Linked DNA regions of Homo sapiens: region 1 is linked to region 2. Evidence: promoter capture Hi-C in 16 types of primary human blood cells and fetal thymus (Javierre and others, 2016). All regions are on one chromosome and are shown on one strand. The core of a region is centred on a gene start or on the middle of the fragment in contact, and the rest is flanking DNA. Distances in the headings are between cores, read along the strand shown.

The links. The method cuts DNA at HindIII sites, captures the fragments that hold promoters and counts their contacts. A CHiCAGO score of 5 or more calls a contact.
Region 1: the fragment with the promoter of CD2BP2 here is called in contact with the fragment with the promoter of ATXN2L in region 2 in 1 of 17 cell types (monocytes); the score reaches 7.3 in monocytes.

The regions. Positions count from the first base shown.
Region 1 is chr16:30,353,761-30,361,310 of GRCh38, forward strand. CD2BP2 (CD2 cytoplasmic tail binding protein 2) reads right to left here and starts at 1,548. Exons shown (of 7, transcript NM_006110.3): 1 at 1,452-1,548; 2 at 844-947; 3 at 424-562; 4 at 141-298; 5 at 1-40. The coding sequence starts at 921. CD2BP2-DT (CD2BP2 divergent transcript) reads left to right here and starts at 1,674. Exons shown (of 2, transcript NR_184233.1): 1 at 1,674-1,860; 2 at 2,533-6,567. It overlaps TBC1D10B (TBC1 domain family member 10B), which reads right to left. Exons shown (of 9, transcript NM_015527.4): 5 at 5,967-6,081; 6 at 5,778-5,843; 7 at 5,412-5,601; 8 at 4,903-5,057; 9 at 3,342-4,813. The coding sequence ends at 4,184. RefSeq lists enhancers at 562-1,513, 598-1,797, 1,488-1,782, 1,514-2,465, 1,520-1,579 and 1 more. The HindIII fragment of the contact is 7,065 bases long and covers 1-4,274 here.
Region 2 is chr16:28,821,413-28,829,215 of GRCh38, forward strand. ATXN2L (ataxin 2 like) reads left to right here and starts at 1,587. Exons shown (of 22, transcript NM_007245.4): 1 at 1,587-2,146; 2 at 3,954-3,990; 3 at 4,212-4,268; 4 at 4,358-4,429; 5 at 4,828-4,978; 6 at 5,450-5,574. The coding sequence starts at 1,848. It overlaps LOC124903672 (a long non-coding RNA gene), which reads right to left and starts at 2,630. Exons shown (of 2, transcript XR_007065042.1): 1 at 2,482-2,630. RefSeq lists enhancers at 866-1,602, 1,114-1,323 and a silencer at 1,644-2,793. The HindIII fragment of the contact is 7,883 bases long and covers 1-6,424 here.

The DNA of each region.
Region 1 (7,550 bases), core at 298-2,797, 1.5 Mb after region 2:
AGGCCTGGCGCTGGCCAGGTGGCCGCTCCCGGATCTTCACCTGTAATGGGAAGATGGAGTGATTTCCCACCAACTGCCACGGGAGCAGGCCCAGCATCTGCCACTCCCAGGCCCCAGCCACGCCAGCCCCTGGGCCGCACCCAGTCAATGTTGTCCAGCCAGCTGTCTCGGATCTGAGCATCCCGGTTCAGGAAGTAGTTGCCATCGGCATCAAAGTGGCCTTCCTCCATCTCCTCCTGCAGGTTAAAGGGTGTGATCCGAACACCCCCCTCGCTGGGGAGTGTGGCTGCCTCCTGACCTGCACCAAAGACACAGGTGCCCTTTTCCAGGCATGGAAAAAAGAGACCGGAGCCTCCCTCGCTCCACACCACCAGAGGCCCCTACTTGTTTTTCCAGCAGAGTGTATTCTTGGGTACAGCTTACCTTCTACATCCTCTGAGGCCAAGATGTCATATTTGCTGGACCCCCCATCATCATCATCCTCCTCCTCATCGCTATCCAAAGAGTGTTTGCCTTTAAAGCGGCTCCCAGGACCCCCTGACCCAGCCACAGGGTCCACCAGCTGTGAGCAGGAGCCAGAAAGTTGAGAAATGCAGGTTACTGGCTACCTCCCCAAATACTTCCGGATCTGGACCCAAATATTCCCCAAATATTTCAGGATCTCGACTACTTCCCCAAATATTTCAGGAGCCACACTAAAGACGCTCCCAACCCATTCCTCAGAGAACCTGAAAAAACTAGGCTTTTCTCTGCCTGCCCGCCCCGCCCCTCTCCCGCCAGCTTTCTTCCTCTTCAGGCTTCTAGCTCCTCTTTCCCCCACACAAAGCAGTCTGGCCCCCTCACCTTCTTCTTGGGGACAATGATTTCATCCTCATCCTCCTCATCTCCCACGCCTTGGAAGGTCACTTTCCTCTTTGGCATGACGGGGCAAAGAGGTGTTTCTCAAGCTGAGGAAAGGATGCAGAGGAAGGGAACCGGGTGAGGAGGGGACTCGCCAACAGACGCAGCACAGCAAACATTTTTCCTGGTCTGTGACAGGTACAGTTTGGGAGCGGAGGGAGCACAAAAGCAGGGGCCGAAAGGAAGCTGGCAGCCAGGAGGCCTCCAGGACTTGGGTCTAGCATCCGCGAGTTAAACGGGGCGGGGACGGAGGAGCGGACCCTCTGGATCCCCCGACCCTGGCTGAAAGGAGACAGGCTTCACCACGTGACCGCCCCCAACTCCAGCCCCCGCAGTCTGCGCGCCACCGGCTCCACGGGCTGACCCCCGCTCTCTACCCTGGCTCTCTCGGAGCTCGCCGGGCCCCGGCAGACCCAGGACCTGGCGCTCTCGCCACCCCGTTCCTCCCTGCTCCGAACTCCCAATTCCGTGTGGTGAGCCCCAACTGTCCCGGGCTGTGTACAACTTAGAGGGCCACGGGGATTCGGGCGGTCCCACCCTCGCGCACTCACCTGGGAATCCGCGGAAGGCGAGGTGGAAAAAAGAAGAGATGCTTGCGCCAGGGCTACATCCGGGGCACCCGGCCGCCATCACCCGGAAGAGGACTGCGGAAGGCGCCCGGGAAGCCCGGAAGTGGCTTCACTCGGGTTAGGGAACTAACTGGAAGAGCGGGCGGAAGTATGCGATAAGCGAGCGAAGACGCCTCCACCCTCTCTCCCGCCAGAAGTGACGTCAGTCACGTGGGAGGACAATGGTGAGAAGAGGGAACCTAAGAATTCCTGGACTCTGACTGGGCGTGAGAAATGGCCGGAAGTAGCTTCGAGTCCGTCATTCAAGCAGTAGAGGCTCTGGAGAAAAACTGGAGCGCATCTGCTTAAAGGGCCGCCCAGGGTCAGGATGGAGGGGCAAAGTCCGAGCAGGGTCAGTGGGTTGCTGCTCCGTTTTCCTGTCCTGGGTTCAAGTCACCCTTCCCCCAGGGCTAAGGGCTCAGCGCCCCTACCGTCTCGTTAGAAATCCTGCCTTCCCATTCCTATGGTCCAGTGGTCAGCCCTCCTAGCCTGAGAGGTGCAGCCTTGCCTCTCCGAGGGGAAGCCTGACTCTCCCGATGGCCAGCCTGGGGCCCCTGGACGGCTCTCCGGGCACTTTCTGAACACACCTCCCTTTAGGACCCAGGGGAAATAATTTGTCCCACGCCCATACCCTGGGCGAGTTCCTGGTTTCTGAGGTGGGAGAGCCATCACTGGAGAGGTGGCATTGGCGCCAGTACTCAGGCCAGAAGCCCCTTGTGCCCTGCTCTCAGGTAGGCCTGGAAAAGGGCAACAGTGCCTCTCTGCAGCATGAAGCCCCCCTGAGCAAACAGGGCCTAGCAACTCCTGCCCAGGTAGCGGAATGTGGCCCAAGCAGAAGGGGGAATTGGGGAGGTAGCGGGGATCAGCCCCTGTGCTGGGACCCCTAGCTCTTGACACTCGGAGCCTGCATCCCCCTAAGCCAAGACTGTGCGCAGGCAGCACGTGCTGAAGCCAGACGAGGACAGCATGAGAGTTCCCCTACTCTTCCCCCAGGCAACTAGATGGGCCACTTCTCTCTCCCTAGGGGTTTCCTCCCATATTGGATCACGATGAAAACTGCACAGAAAGTCCGTGCTCAGTTTCTTCCATGGTTACAGAACACAGGCCCCAGACCAGGAAGGCATTCTGCTAAAGAAGGGGACCCGAAACCTCAGCTACCAGCGCCGATGGTTCATCCTCCGAGGAAACCTCCTCTTCTACCTAGAACACTAGACCGACCATGCACCCCTGAGCCTCATCCTGTTAGAGAACTGCCAGGTGGAACCACACCTTAAGGCTGCAGAACCCTATGCCTTTACCATCCTGACCCCTGGGGTGGAGGGCACAGGTGGGCGGGCCTACAAGCTGGCTGCAGAAACCCAGGAAGAGCTGGAGACTTGGCTGTGGGCACTGGCTGGCGCGAGCTGGAGGCGGCTGGCTGGGCTGCTGTCCCCCCTCCCCCCCCACCAAAACCCAATACTGGGAGCTGTGCCAGGCAACTGGCCAAGAACCCATCTCATCCCCAGAGGACAGTGGCTTTCTAGCCACTGTGAGTACCCCCTCCAGCTTCCAGGAGTTGCATGAGCACTTTGGGAAGGAGATCCGGGTGCTGCACGTGGTACATAGAGAGCTCCAGGCAGCCAGTGACAATGGAGACAGCAGATCCCAGGCAAAGATGGAGCAGGAGCTCAACCAGTGTCTGATGAGTGACTGAGAGATGGACCCAAAGCTAAGAGGTACCTACTTGCCAAGACAGCAGACTGCTTCAACAGAGACCCAGGTCCTGGCTCTGTCCCTCCCTCCCTCGTCCTTACCCCATCCCCCCCTCATCAAATAACAAGGCAGAAAACAGGCCCAGGTACAACAGCAGGTTCTTTTCCAATTCCTCAAAGCGCTGCATGGGGTGGGGGCAGAGACAGAAGAGAATGTAAACATTGGGTTCCACCCCCTGGAGCTCAAGGGAAGACCCTTACCCAGATAGGGACTAACTGGAGGGGTGGAAGGGAACAAGGTGAAAGGTATGGGTCCTGGTGAGACAAAAGCAGGGGGGCCTGAGAACACAGAGCAAGGTGGGTTTGGAGGGAGCACAGCAGGGTGCAGGAAGGGAGATGGGGGACATTTCCTATTCCAGTGCATGTCCCCTTAAATAAACTGGGTACAGGAGCATTATGGAAGGAGAACCAAAGGACAGAAGACAAAGCGAGCACCCCCACCCCAGGCCAACGCCATCCTCTGTACACAATTACAACACAGGTCCAGAATGAGAGCCCTGGCCAGGAAGTGGGGGAGACAGGGAGGGCTGAAGACAGGGAAAAGGAAGCCAGCTCCACCTCATGGTAAGGGGAGCTATGGAGTGTAAGAATCTGAAACTGCTGACTCCCATCACCAGGAGTCACCCCTGGGATGACAACGGGCCATTCAGGACAGCACCTAGGAGGGGACCCAGAGGGAACTGGGGCAGGAGCGACAGAGACCCCAGCTGAGCCTCATGGGAGATGAGAGGCTCCAGACTCATTTGCAGCTGCCCATCTGTCCTGCCCGTGTAGGGATCAGCAGCTGGCGAGGAGATGGGGAACCAAGCCACTTTCCCCAGCAAGGGACAGCCTGACAAGGTGCTAGGGGGTGGCACCTTGGGCCAGGCCTGTTCTTGGCTGAGGGAAAGAGGGGGGCCATGCAGTCCAGCCCCAGGGCAGAGGTCAGAAGTAAGCGTCCTGCCGGGCCTCGGCTGAGGGCCTGTCCCCACCATCATGGGGGCCTGGGGGCCCATCTGCCTTTCGACGCAGCGAAAGCTTCCGGCCTTGAGCCTTCTTCTCCTGCTTCTGCCGCTCCTTCTCCTGCTTCTCTCGCTCCTTTTCCTGCTTCTCTCGCTCTTTCTCCTGCTTCTGCCGCTCCTTCTCCCGCTCCTTCTCCTGTTTCTGCCGCTCCTTCTCCTGTTTCTGCCGCTCCTTCTCCTGCTTCCGGGTCTCCTTGCTGGAACCCAAGGGGGTGCTATTGCCAGTGGGTGAGGGAAGGGATGGATGCAGTCCCTCAGCAGTGACCACAGGCCCTGGGGCAGGCCCAGCACTGGCTCTGCGGACGGGGGGCGGCGGGGACGGGGCCCCTCCAGCTGCCCGGGAGCCTCGGCTCTTGAGGCCAGGGAGGCTGAGGAGGCTGGAGGAGGGGCCCAGGGGTGGCTGTTGCCGCCGGCGCTCCTCGTGGATGGCCCGGGACCCATGCAGTCGCCGTGAGGGCCGATACTGCAGCTCCCCCCGCGTTTCCCGCCACTTCTTGAGCTGGGCTGCATTCTCCCGCTCAATCAGTGCTTCTGTCACCGGCAGATTGGTCACCTGCACAGAGAGGAAATGCGTACCAGAATGGAGCTGAGGGTGGGAGCGGGCTGAGGCAGGCAGGGGCTGCGTTGAGGGCACAGGCCTACCTCATGCACCAGGAAGTCTTCCTGCATGCACTGCTGGGGCAGGTTACGCAGCTGCTCCATGGTCTCATACATGCCTTGGCAGGAGCGCAGCTTCTCCACTGAGCCCAGCGTGTGGCGCAGCAGGACCAGGGCCACCCGGAAGATGATCTTAACGCCTGCAGGGGTGGAGAGTAGAGAGCATGGGGTGGTCAGACCCAAGATCTCAGCCTGTCCTGATCAGGATAGACTCACAGCCCCCATCCCCATCTACTGCCAATCTCAGATGAGGAAACTGAGGCCCTGTGAAAGTACATGAGCTGCTATCAGTCTCAGGATCTTGGCAGGGAGAGCAGGCTCTGGGTTGGTGGCAGAACTAAAATCAGGCCTGTTTCTCCAGCCCCCAGCTGCTTATGGTGAAACCTCCACCCAACAAGTACCTTTTGTCCATGGACCACCAGAAATATGACAGAACCCCTGGTAGCCACCACAGAAACCCCAGCCCCTCATGGCCTGGAGGGCCACAGAAGTACCTTCACAGAAAAACATGTCCCAGACACGCAGCACCGACGCCCAGGGCAGGGTGCGGGCGAAGATGCACATGAACCACTCCGTCATGTAGAGCACAGGGTCAATGCGCTGCCGCCGCAGGTGGCGATGCGCCAGCGGGGAGGCCCGGCGCAGGAGTGCAAAAAAGATCTCCCCGTCCAGCTGAATGGCCTCCTGCAGGTGGGACAAGCCATGAGAAGAGGGCCAAGTCAGCTGTGCCCCCATCAGGGGAGAACTGGCCGGCCCTGTGGGCAGAAGCCGGGAAGGCCAGGGTGGGGCAAGGCAAGGACCTGCCTGCAGCCTGGAGGAAACGCCACAGCCCCGGATGCACCCAGCCTCCAGACACTCACCAGCCCTGCACTGTAGTAACCTGGGAGGTACTTGTCGCAGATCTGCACCAGGCACCAAAAGGCTTGCTGAGAAGAGCAAGAACAAGGAGGAGGGGTGGGGCCTGAGAAGCAGGGAGCAGGGAGCTCCCCCATCACCACTGTAGGGTGAGATCCCCCCTGCCCCTCCCGGCCCAGGACCAGGGCGCTGACCTCCGCAGGCATGTGCATGAGCAGGACCGCAGCCACGGGGGCCTGGGCCTGGCAGTAACCCTCGTCAGGCCGGTAGATGGTGTAGGCCTTCAGGATTCGGTACAGGTCCTGTTGCCTGTGGGGGTTGGGGAAGACTGTGAGGGCAGTCACGGGCTGAGAGCTCTGTCCCCAAACCCAGTTCCAGATTCGTCCCAGAGTTTATCACCAGGCTCCTCCATCCACCTGCCCAGTCCTGCTGAGCGAGCTTCAGCTAAAGGCTCAGCCCACAGCAGAGCACTCCAGGCCCCGGGGCTCCGCCTTTGGCTACATACTCCACATGCTCCTGGCCATCCCAGCACAGGCTGCACCCTCGCCCTCCTTCCTCAGCCACATCCCAGAAACCTTCCAGGTCATTTTCTCCAGGAAGCTTTCCACAGCTGCAGCATCAGCCCTCCTCTAGCACTAAATGTCTTTGTCACCCCAAAGCAGTAGCTCCCCAGGGCAGGGCCTGCCTTATCGGTCTCACTGGATTTCATGGTTCTTGGGGAAGGCTTGGAAGCCAGCTGTGCCTCAGCCCTTTCTCCTGTCTCTGCATCCAAAAGAATAAAATCTGTACCCTAGATCTGCTCTTCTTGAGGGTGCCCCACTGCCGTGTCCAGGACTTCTATTCACTCAGCCCCACATCAGAAAAGAGCCCCTTACTCCAAGCCTAAGCAGCGCTGCACCCTGAATTCCATTCCTGCCTGCTCCTCTCCACCTCCACAGCCATTCGCAGCTCAGACCTCCATTTCTTGCCCATAAAAAATGACCTCCCAGATCCTCTCCCTGCCTCCAGTCTCACACATCCTCCTCCTGACCACTTCCCAGAATAGCTTTTCCCAAAACTCCAGGCATTCAAGTGTGATCTTCATTTGTATTTTATCTGCATACCACCCTACTATTTAGTTGACATTTTTTCTCCACTTTGCAAAAGCATCCACGAAATGACAGGTTTGATATGGTTATTTTACCTAATGCATATTAAAATAAATATGTAACTTCCACAAGCACCCACACCCATCACCCACCTGCCTGCTTCCGTGTCCCTGCCTTCTCCCTGTTGCTATGGGTGAAGAGTCTGTGATCCTGGCAAGCACTTCCTTTCCACTTGGGCCCAGGATCCCATCCCCTCTCGCGTGTACAGGCCACCACTCCAACAACCCTCCCCTTGCTCCTGCACTATCAATTTCTCTCTCCACCGTTCCCACAAGCATACCCACATGCTGTTATTTGAGTTTAAAAAAAAAAAAAGTCTCTTCACCAGGCGCAGTAGCTCGCGCCTGTAATCCTAGCACTTTGGGAGGCCAAGGTGGGTGGATCACCTGAGGTCAGGAGTTCGAGACCAGCCTGGCCAACATGGCAAAACCCCGTCTCTACCAAAAATACAAAAATTAGCCAGGTGTGGTGGCGGGCACCTGTGATCCCAGGTACTTGGGAGGCTGAGGTGGGAGAATCACTTGAATCTGGGAATCTGGGAGGCAGAGGTTGCAGTGAGCCAAGATCACACCACTGCACTCCAGCCTGGGCGACAGTCAAGCTCTGTCTCAAAACAAACAAAAAAAAGTC
Region 2 (7,803 bases), core at 337-2,836:
TTTGTTTGTTTTGGGGGGAAGGAGTCTTGCTCTGTCACCCAGGCTGGAGTGCAGTGGTGCGATCTGGGCTCACGGCAACCTCCGCCTCCTTGGTTCAAGTGATTCTCCTGCCTCAGCCTCCTGAGTAGCTGGGATTACAGGCATGCACCACCACGCCTAGCTAATTTTTGCATTTTTAGTAGAGACAGGGTTTCACCATGTTGGCCAGGCTGATCTCAAACTCCTGACCTCAAACCTCCCAAAGTACTGGGATTACAGACCATGCCCAGCCTCTTTTCACTTTCTTAAATAAGCTCCCCACTGCTTTGAGGATAATGTCCGTGTCTCTTACAAGACTTGGGAGCCTTTAAAACCTGATCCCAGATTAGCTACCTCTTCCCCCCTTTAATTTTATGCTTAGGACAAGCTGAGTTTTTCTTAGTTTGTCATATCCTATTTCCCTGCCTAGAAACCCATCTCCCCCTGCCCTCTTATCAGTTTTTTTTTATAATTTAAATTTTTTTTTTTTTGTAGAGACAAAGTCTCACTTTGTTGCCTAGGCTGGTCTCAAACTCCTGGCCTTAAACGATCCTTCTGCCTCGGACTCCCAAAATGTTAGGATTACAGGTATGAGCCACTGCGCCCGGCCCTCCTGTCCCTTATCTGGGTCTCCCAAAACTGGATTAAGATTAGGTGTCACTCCCATTTGCTCTTGTAGTCCTCTGTGCTTCACCTACTAGATCTCGTCAAATTCTCTGAATTCACCACTAGCATGAACTCCTCCAGAGCAGGAAGCAGTTTAATTATCCTTGTGTCCAAAACAACTAACTGAATACTCCAATGCCCAACTCATTTTGAATGAATGAAGCTGCCTTCATTGCAGGGTCGGGTGGAGGATTTTGAACTCGGAACTTTGGCCTTCAGTCTTTGTTATTACAGTTTAAAGATTCATTCTCGGGCATGGAGGAACAATTTAGGTCAAAATCACAAAAATCTGAAATAATTTAGGACGAGGCGTAAATTTATCTGCAAAGATCAACACGCTCAAACGAATCACTAATGCTCATCAGTCTTTTACTTAAAGCAAACAAGGTGGAGGGTAGCTCCTTGCGAAACCTACCACCTGCCTAAAAGCGCAGTGGCTCGGGTGGTCCAGTCCCGGAGACTTTCTTGGCACTTAAGGCTCTGCCCACGGGCCGCCAAGTGGCGGAAGAGCCTCACGCACGACGTGCCGCCTCACACTCCCGCGGAGGCATCGCGACGCAGCGACGGCGTGGGCGGAGAGGCCGGCCCTTCCTCTGGCGCCTTCGGCTCCTCCCCCTGCGCCTCACACGCTCATTGTGAAGCGACAGCGGCCGCCGGCTTCTAAGGCGGTTTGAGACCTTAAGACCCTAAATCCTTGGCGCGCGTGAGCGCCCGCGCCGCTCCTTACCCACTCCCAGGGCTAGGGGTGCGAGGTTCACCGACTTGATTCTCTCCCACTTTCCCGCCGGGAGCTAACCGCGCCGGTGTGCGCGGCACCTCGCGCCACTGCTCGCTCCTGGCCCCCCCCCCCCCCCCCCCCCCCCGGGAGCTCCCACCCGCGCGCTCCTCCCTCTCCGCTCCCCGGCGACGCGCACGCGCGCCAGCCCGGCTCGCGCCCTCTCGCTTTCCTCCAGCCGCGAGACCCCCTCCCCTTCCGCCTCGCGGCGCTTCCTCGCGCCGCGGTCTTCTCTCTCCACCCCCGACACCGCGGGGCTCCCCCCGCCCGCCCACGGCGGGCCCCGGCTGCCCGATCCCCCTCGCTTCCCGCGCTCTCCAGCGGGGCCCCAGCCCCGGCCCCCTCTCTCCCTCCCTTCTCTCTAATTCCCCTTCCGGACGCTGCCATCATGTTGAAGCCTCAGCCGCTACAACAGCCCTCCCAGCCCCAGCAGCCGCCCCCCACGCAACAGGCCGTGGCCCGTCGGCCCCCCGGGGGCACCAGCCCTCCCAACGGCGGCCTCCCGGGGCCGCTGGCCACCTCTGCGGCTCCTCCCGGGCCTCCAGCGGCCGCCTCCCCCTGCCTGGGGCCTGTGGCCGCTGCCGGGAGCGGGCTCCGCCGGGGAGCCGAAGGCATCTTGGCGCCGCAGCCGCCGCCGCCGCAGCAACACCAGGAGAGGCCGGGGGCAGCCGCCATCGGCAGCGCCAGGTGAGAAGGGTGGGCTCCGGGCGAGGGAGCCGCGGCCACCCAGAGGCTGTGGCTCGGTTCCGGTGGGGCGGACCCCGACCCGGCACCGTCAGGGGCACCGGCTGGGTGGGGAGTCCCCGTGAAGCTGGGGGAGGGCCCCCTCAGGTCCGAACAGGTCGGACGGAAAGGGTCCCCGGGCGGCCACCGGAGCACTGAGGGGCCGCGCTCGGCTCTCGGGGCCTAGTCAGGGCTCGCAGCCCCGGCCTTCAGGGGAGGCGGGGCGCATCCCGCCGGCGCCGTCGGAACGGGGAGTTGGGGGGGGGCAAGGAGCTGATCGGGGTCCCCGGTTCCATTACCACGAAGGGTCTCGCGGTCCCCGGCTTCAGCCAATGGGGAGTCTGCTGCGGGAAGGGGTCCCCGGCCGTAGCCAATGGAGGGGGGCGCGCGGCCCACAGTTTGGCCAATGGGGAGGGAGGGACTTGGGAGCGGGTTGCTGCCTCCCCCTTCCCGGTCTGGCCAGTAGGAGGGGAGCGAGGTGGGCGGGGGGACGGAAGGAGGGATGACTGGGAGGACTGCGGGCCGGGAGCCTCTGGCGCGCGCGCCCCCTTCCCGTACGTGCGCGTGGATGCTCGGTCTCATGACCCGGGCATTCGCGCGCCCCGGGAACACCTAGGGCAGGGACTAGTTCGTGGAGGGGCTCGTCTGGTGGCAGTGCATGAGTAGTGGAGGCCCTGCTCAGTTTTTCCTGTGCGAGTGTGTGTGTGTTAATGGAATTAAGAGTGGCAGCACACGCAGGCGCAGTGGGCTCTGATCGCTGGAGGTGGGGGTTCGGAAAGTCCCGTGGGTTTTAGTGCGCAGGCGCAGACCGGGCGAGGCCTCCCGGTGGATGGCTTTTGCGGCTGCGCTGTCCCCCAGCCCCGCCAGCGGCCCCCTCTTCGCCCTCAACCGCCGGTTACATCAGCCAGCGACGAGCAGGGTTACCTGGCGATTGGTGATCCCCGCAGAGTGGGTAACGGGCTGAATGAGTCATGAGGTCGAGGGGATGGGGTGTGGAGGGGATACCCCTCCTCCCACAGTTTTGAGGCGTCAGGCTGCTGAAAATGATTGTCTTTTCTGTTTGGGAGGTAATGTACCTGAGCTAGGTAGTTCCAAAGCTGCACTCCTGGAGCTTTTGCCCTCACAGCTGGCGTGGCTTTTTGGTTAATACTGTAGCATTGATCTGTTGGTAGCCTGCAGCCCTAGCCCCTTTCTCGTTGGTTCTTAGAGCAATTGACAACCATTGTTGATTGAGATCTTTTTGCTGGCATTTGGAGGAAATGTGTTTGCTGGCTTATTAATGTCTATTTTTTTCTTCCTCTACAAGGTGACAGTTTGAAAATCTTATTTATTGGCCGGGCGCAGTGGCTCACGCCTGTAATGCCAGCACTTTAGGAGGCAAAGGTGGGAGGATCCCTTGAGCCCAAGGAGATCGATACCAGCCTGGGCAACACAGATGGGAAATCCCATCTCTACTAAAAATTAAAAAAAAAAAAAGCCAGGAGTGGTGGTTCGTACCTATAGTCTCAGCCACTCGGGAGGCTGAGGCAGGAAGATCACTTGAGCCTTGGAGGTTGAGGCTACAGTGAACTGAGATCACGCCACTGCACCCCAGCCTGGGCAACAGAGGGAGACCCTGTCTCAAAAAAAATAGAAAAATCTTACTGATTAACAATTTTGTAGTCTAAATCAGCATCATCAGGTGGTATATACTTCTAGGATTTAACATTAATTTCATAGTGGTCTAAGAGGGCTTGAACAGACTTAAGTAATTTCTTGTTTTCTTTTATAGGGGACAGAGCACAGGAAAGGGACCCCCACAGTCACCTGTGAGTGTCTTCTCCCACCCTGTTTAAGATACATAGACCTAAAAGATGCATAATGTGGGAATATAGGGCACATTAGGTCTAGATAGAGTCTAATGTACTCAGGAGGGCTGTGGGCCCGGCACACACAAGGCAGAATGAGTAGAGTGCGGCGGGCATTTAGAAAAGAAAATGAGGTGTTGACTGATTACTCCTTTAATTCTCCCTCTTATGTTAACTGACAGGTGTTTGAAGGCGTCTACAACAATTCCAGAATGCTGCATTTCCTTACAGCTGTTGTGGTAAGTTGGTACTTAACCCCCGGGTTGTTTAAGGAACGTAATGCATCTACTTTCTGGAGACACTCTTCTTATTTTTCCCACTCTGCCAGGGCTCCACTTGTGATGTAAAGGTGAAAAATGGTACCACTTATGAGGGTATCTTCAAGACGCTAAGCTCAAAGGTCAGTGTACTCAAATTTAATTATTTTTGGAGTTGCAGAGTAGGAGGAGAATGAAATAGGCTCATTGAAGGTGTCAATTGGGTGATGTCAGAGTATGCCTTTAGTTGTTTCTGTAGGCCTGTGCTGAATAGTGCTGCAGGGAAAAAAGACAAATTTGAGGGCTGGGTACTTTAATGTTAAAATATTTAAGTTTAAATTTTTGTGAGACTTTTGCTAAGTCCTGTGGCTGATGTTGAGAAAACAATGCACTTGGTTCCAAGCATGTTGAGGATGTAGTGTTGTGAAAAGTTTGGGAAGGGTAAGAGAAATCCAGTTCTATTTAAGAGAAATCCAGTTCTATTTTTGCCTTCACTTTTCTTGAAACTGACCCATGGGTGTGGGGAATGGGGTGTTTGTAGTTTGAACTAGCCGTGGATGCTGTGCACCGGAAAGCATCTGAGCCAGCAGGTGGCCCTCGTCGGGAGGACATTGTGGACACCATGGTGTTTAAGCCAAGTGATGTCATGCTTGTTCACTTCCGAAATGTTGACTTCAACTATGCTACTAAAGGTATTGTCCTAGGCTGTTACCTCAGACCTGCTCTGTGTGCATAGAGGACAGAGGGTAGTTTGTGTGCAGGTGGAACATGGTGATGTGTTTGGTTTGTTTTTTTGTTTTTGTTTGTTTGTTTTGCTTTAATGCCTTTTTTTTCCTGAGCGAAGTGGGTGGATTTTTCTTCTTAAAAATATGTCTTGATGTCTAATATATAATGCGATGAATTCCTGTCTGTGTTGTGGTTCTTCATATTTTCTTTGCTTGGTTTTTAACTTCTTTTTTCTTTGGAATCATAGTACTGATAGACTTTTTATACTCTTCTTCTCTTGCCTCCCCACCCCCTGGCCATCCTAACACACGGGCACACGTACTCTGGACTTCTTAAACTTTGTTCCTGAACTACTTACGGAGAGTGGGGTTGGGGGATATTGGAAAGAAGTCTGTGAAATATAGCCTGACTCCTGATCTTCACCTCTGCCCCCACAGACAAGTTCACCGATTCAGCCATTGCCATGAACTCGAAAGTGAATGGGGAACACAAAGAGAAGGTGCTTCAGCGCTGGGAGGGGGGTGACAGCAACAGCGACGACTATGACCTCGAGTCTGACATGGTATAGCCTCCTTCCCTGAGAACTTGGGAGCTGGACAGACAGAATGGGTTGTTGACAGTGAGGTTCATTTGAGTGGGGAGGGAAATATTTACTGTTGCCCATTGATGGTAGTCAGATAACAAATAGAAAGGTATAGAAAATAGCAAAGTAAAAATATCTATTCTTAGCTGGGTGCAGTGGCTCATGTTTGTAATCCCAGCACTTTGGGAGGCCAAGGCCGGTGGGTCACTTGAGGCAAGGATTTCGAGACCAGTCTGGGCAACATGGTGAAACCCTGTCTCAACAAGATATATAAAAGCTATCAAGGTTTGGTGGCATGTACCTGTAGTCCCAGCTACTTGGGAGGCTGAAGTGGAAGGATCACTTGAGCCCAGGGAGGTCGAGGCTACAGTGAGCTGTGATCATACCACTGCACTCCAGCCTGGGTGGACCGTGTCACACGCAACAAAACCAAAACATCAACTTACTCTCTTACTATCTATAATTAACCACTCCTAGCATTTGCATCACGTTATTTTTCAACATAACAAAAAGTATAGATTAATGTGTAGGCCCATTTCTCTTCCCAAAATCAGCTACTCTGAGGCATTTAAAATCTCATGAGGCTGAGCGCAGTGGCTCATGCCTGTAGTCCCAGCTACTTGGGAGGCCAAGGCAGGAGCTCCGATCACTTGAGCCCAGGAGTTTGAGGCTGCTGTAAGCTGAGATTGTGCCACTGGACTCCAGTCTGAGCGACAGTGAGGATGTCTCAAAAAAATAAATAAAAACCGCTCATGAATAGAGCTGAGCGTGGTGGTCCCACACCTGTAGTCCCAGCTACTCAGGAGGCTGAGGTAGGAGAATCATTTGAAGCTTTGGTGCACTATGACTCAACTTGTGAATGGCCACTGTGCTCCAGCCTGGGCATCATAGCGAGACTATCTGTTGAGAAACAAATGTCTTGTGAATGAATATATTATTGTTTTGTTATGTTTAGTTTGTACAAGAATTTGCTTTTCTTGCCTTTTCGAACTTCTCATGGTTGTACGTAGATCTAGTTCTTTGCTTCTATTGTTGTGTGCTGTTTTCAAATATACACACACACGTGTACACAGCAAATTGTATTTGTCCTTTTCCTTAATCATCTGCATTTGGTTGCCATTATTTTGCTACTAAAAATAGTACCTTGCTGGACTTTTAGAACATATATTCCCCACGCACATGTGCCAGAATTTTTCTGGGATGTCTTGGAAATAGAATTGTTAGGTCTTATGACTTTTCAGGTTTACTAGTTATTGATAATTTCTGCTGCAGTTGTTAGTAATCATTAACAGTTGCAGGCCGGGCGCGGTGGCTCACACCAGTAATCCCAGCACTTTGGGAGGCCAAGGCGGGCAGATCACCTGAGGTTGGGAGTTTGGAACTAGCCTGACCAACGTGGAGAAGCCCCATCTCTACTAAAAATACAAAATTAGCTGGGCGTGGTGGCACATGCCCGTAATCCCAGCTACTCGTGAGGTTGAGGCAGGAGAATCGCTTGAACCCAAGGAGACGGAGGTTGCGGTGAGCCAAGATCGCACCATTGCACTCCAGCCTGGGCAACAAGAGTGAAACTCTTTGTCTCCAAAAAAAAAAAAAAAATTGCAGTTATTAATTACAATTATTAGTTGATTACTTTTGCCAGCCACGTTCCAATTTTTTTTCCACTCTTGTTTTGTCGTTTATTTTTGAGACGAGCTTGCTCTGTTGCCCGGGTTTTTGTTGTAGTTGTTTGTTTTTGTTTTTGTTTTTGTTTTTTTTGGAGACAGGGTCTCACTCTGTCACTCAGGCTGGAGGCTGGAGTGCAGTGGCTCGATCTCAGCTCACTGCAACCTCTGCCTCCCAGGTTCAAGCGATTCTTCTGCCTCAGCCAGGACTGCAGGCATGCGCCACCACGGATGGCTAATTTTTTATTTTTAGTAGAGACGGGGTTTCACCATGTTGGTCAGGTTGATCTCCTGACCTCAGGTGATCCACCCACCTCCCAAAGTGCTGGGATTACAGGCATGAGCCACCACGCCCAGCTAGTCGCCCAGGCCAGAGCGCAGTGGTGCCATAATAATTCACTGCAGCCTCAAACTCCTGGGCTCAAGTGATCCTCTCTCCTCAATCTCCTGAGTAGCGAGTAGCTAGGACCCCAGGCATGCACCACCACACCCGGCTGTTTCATTATTTTTTTCTAGAGATGAGCTCTTGCTGTGTTGCCCAGTC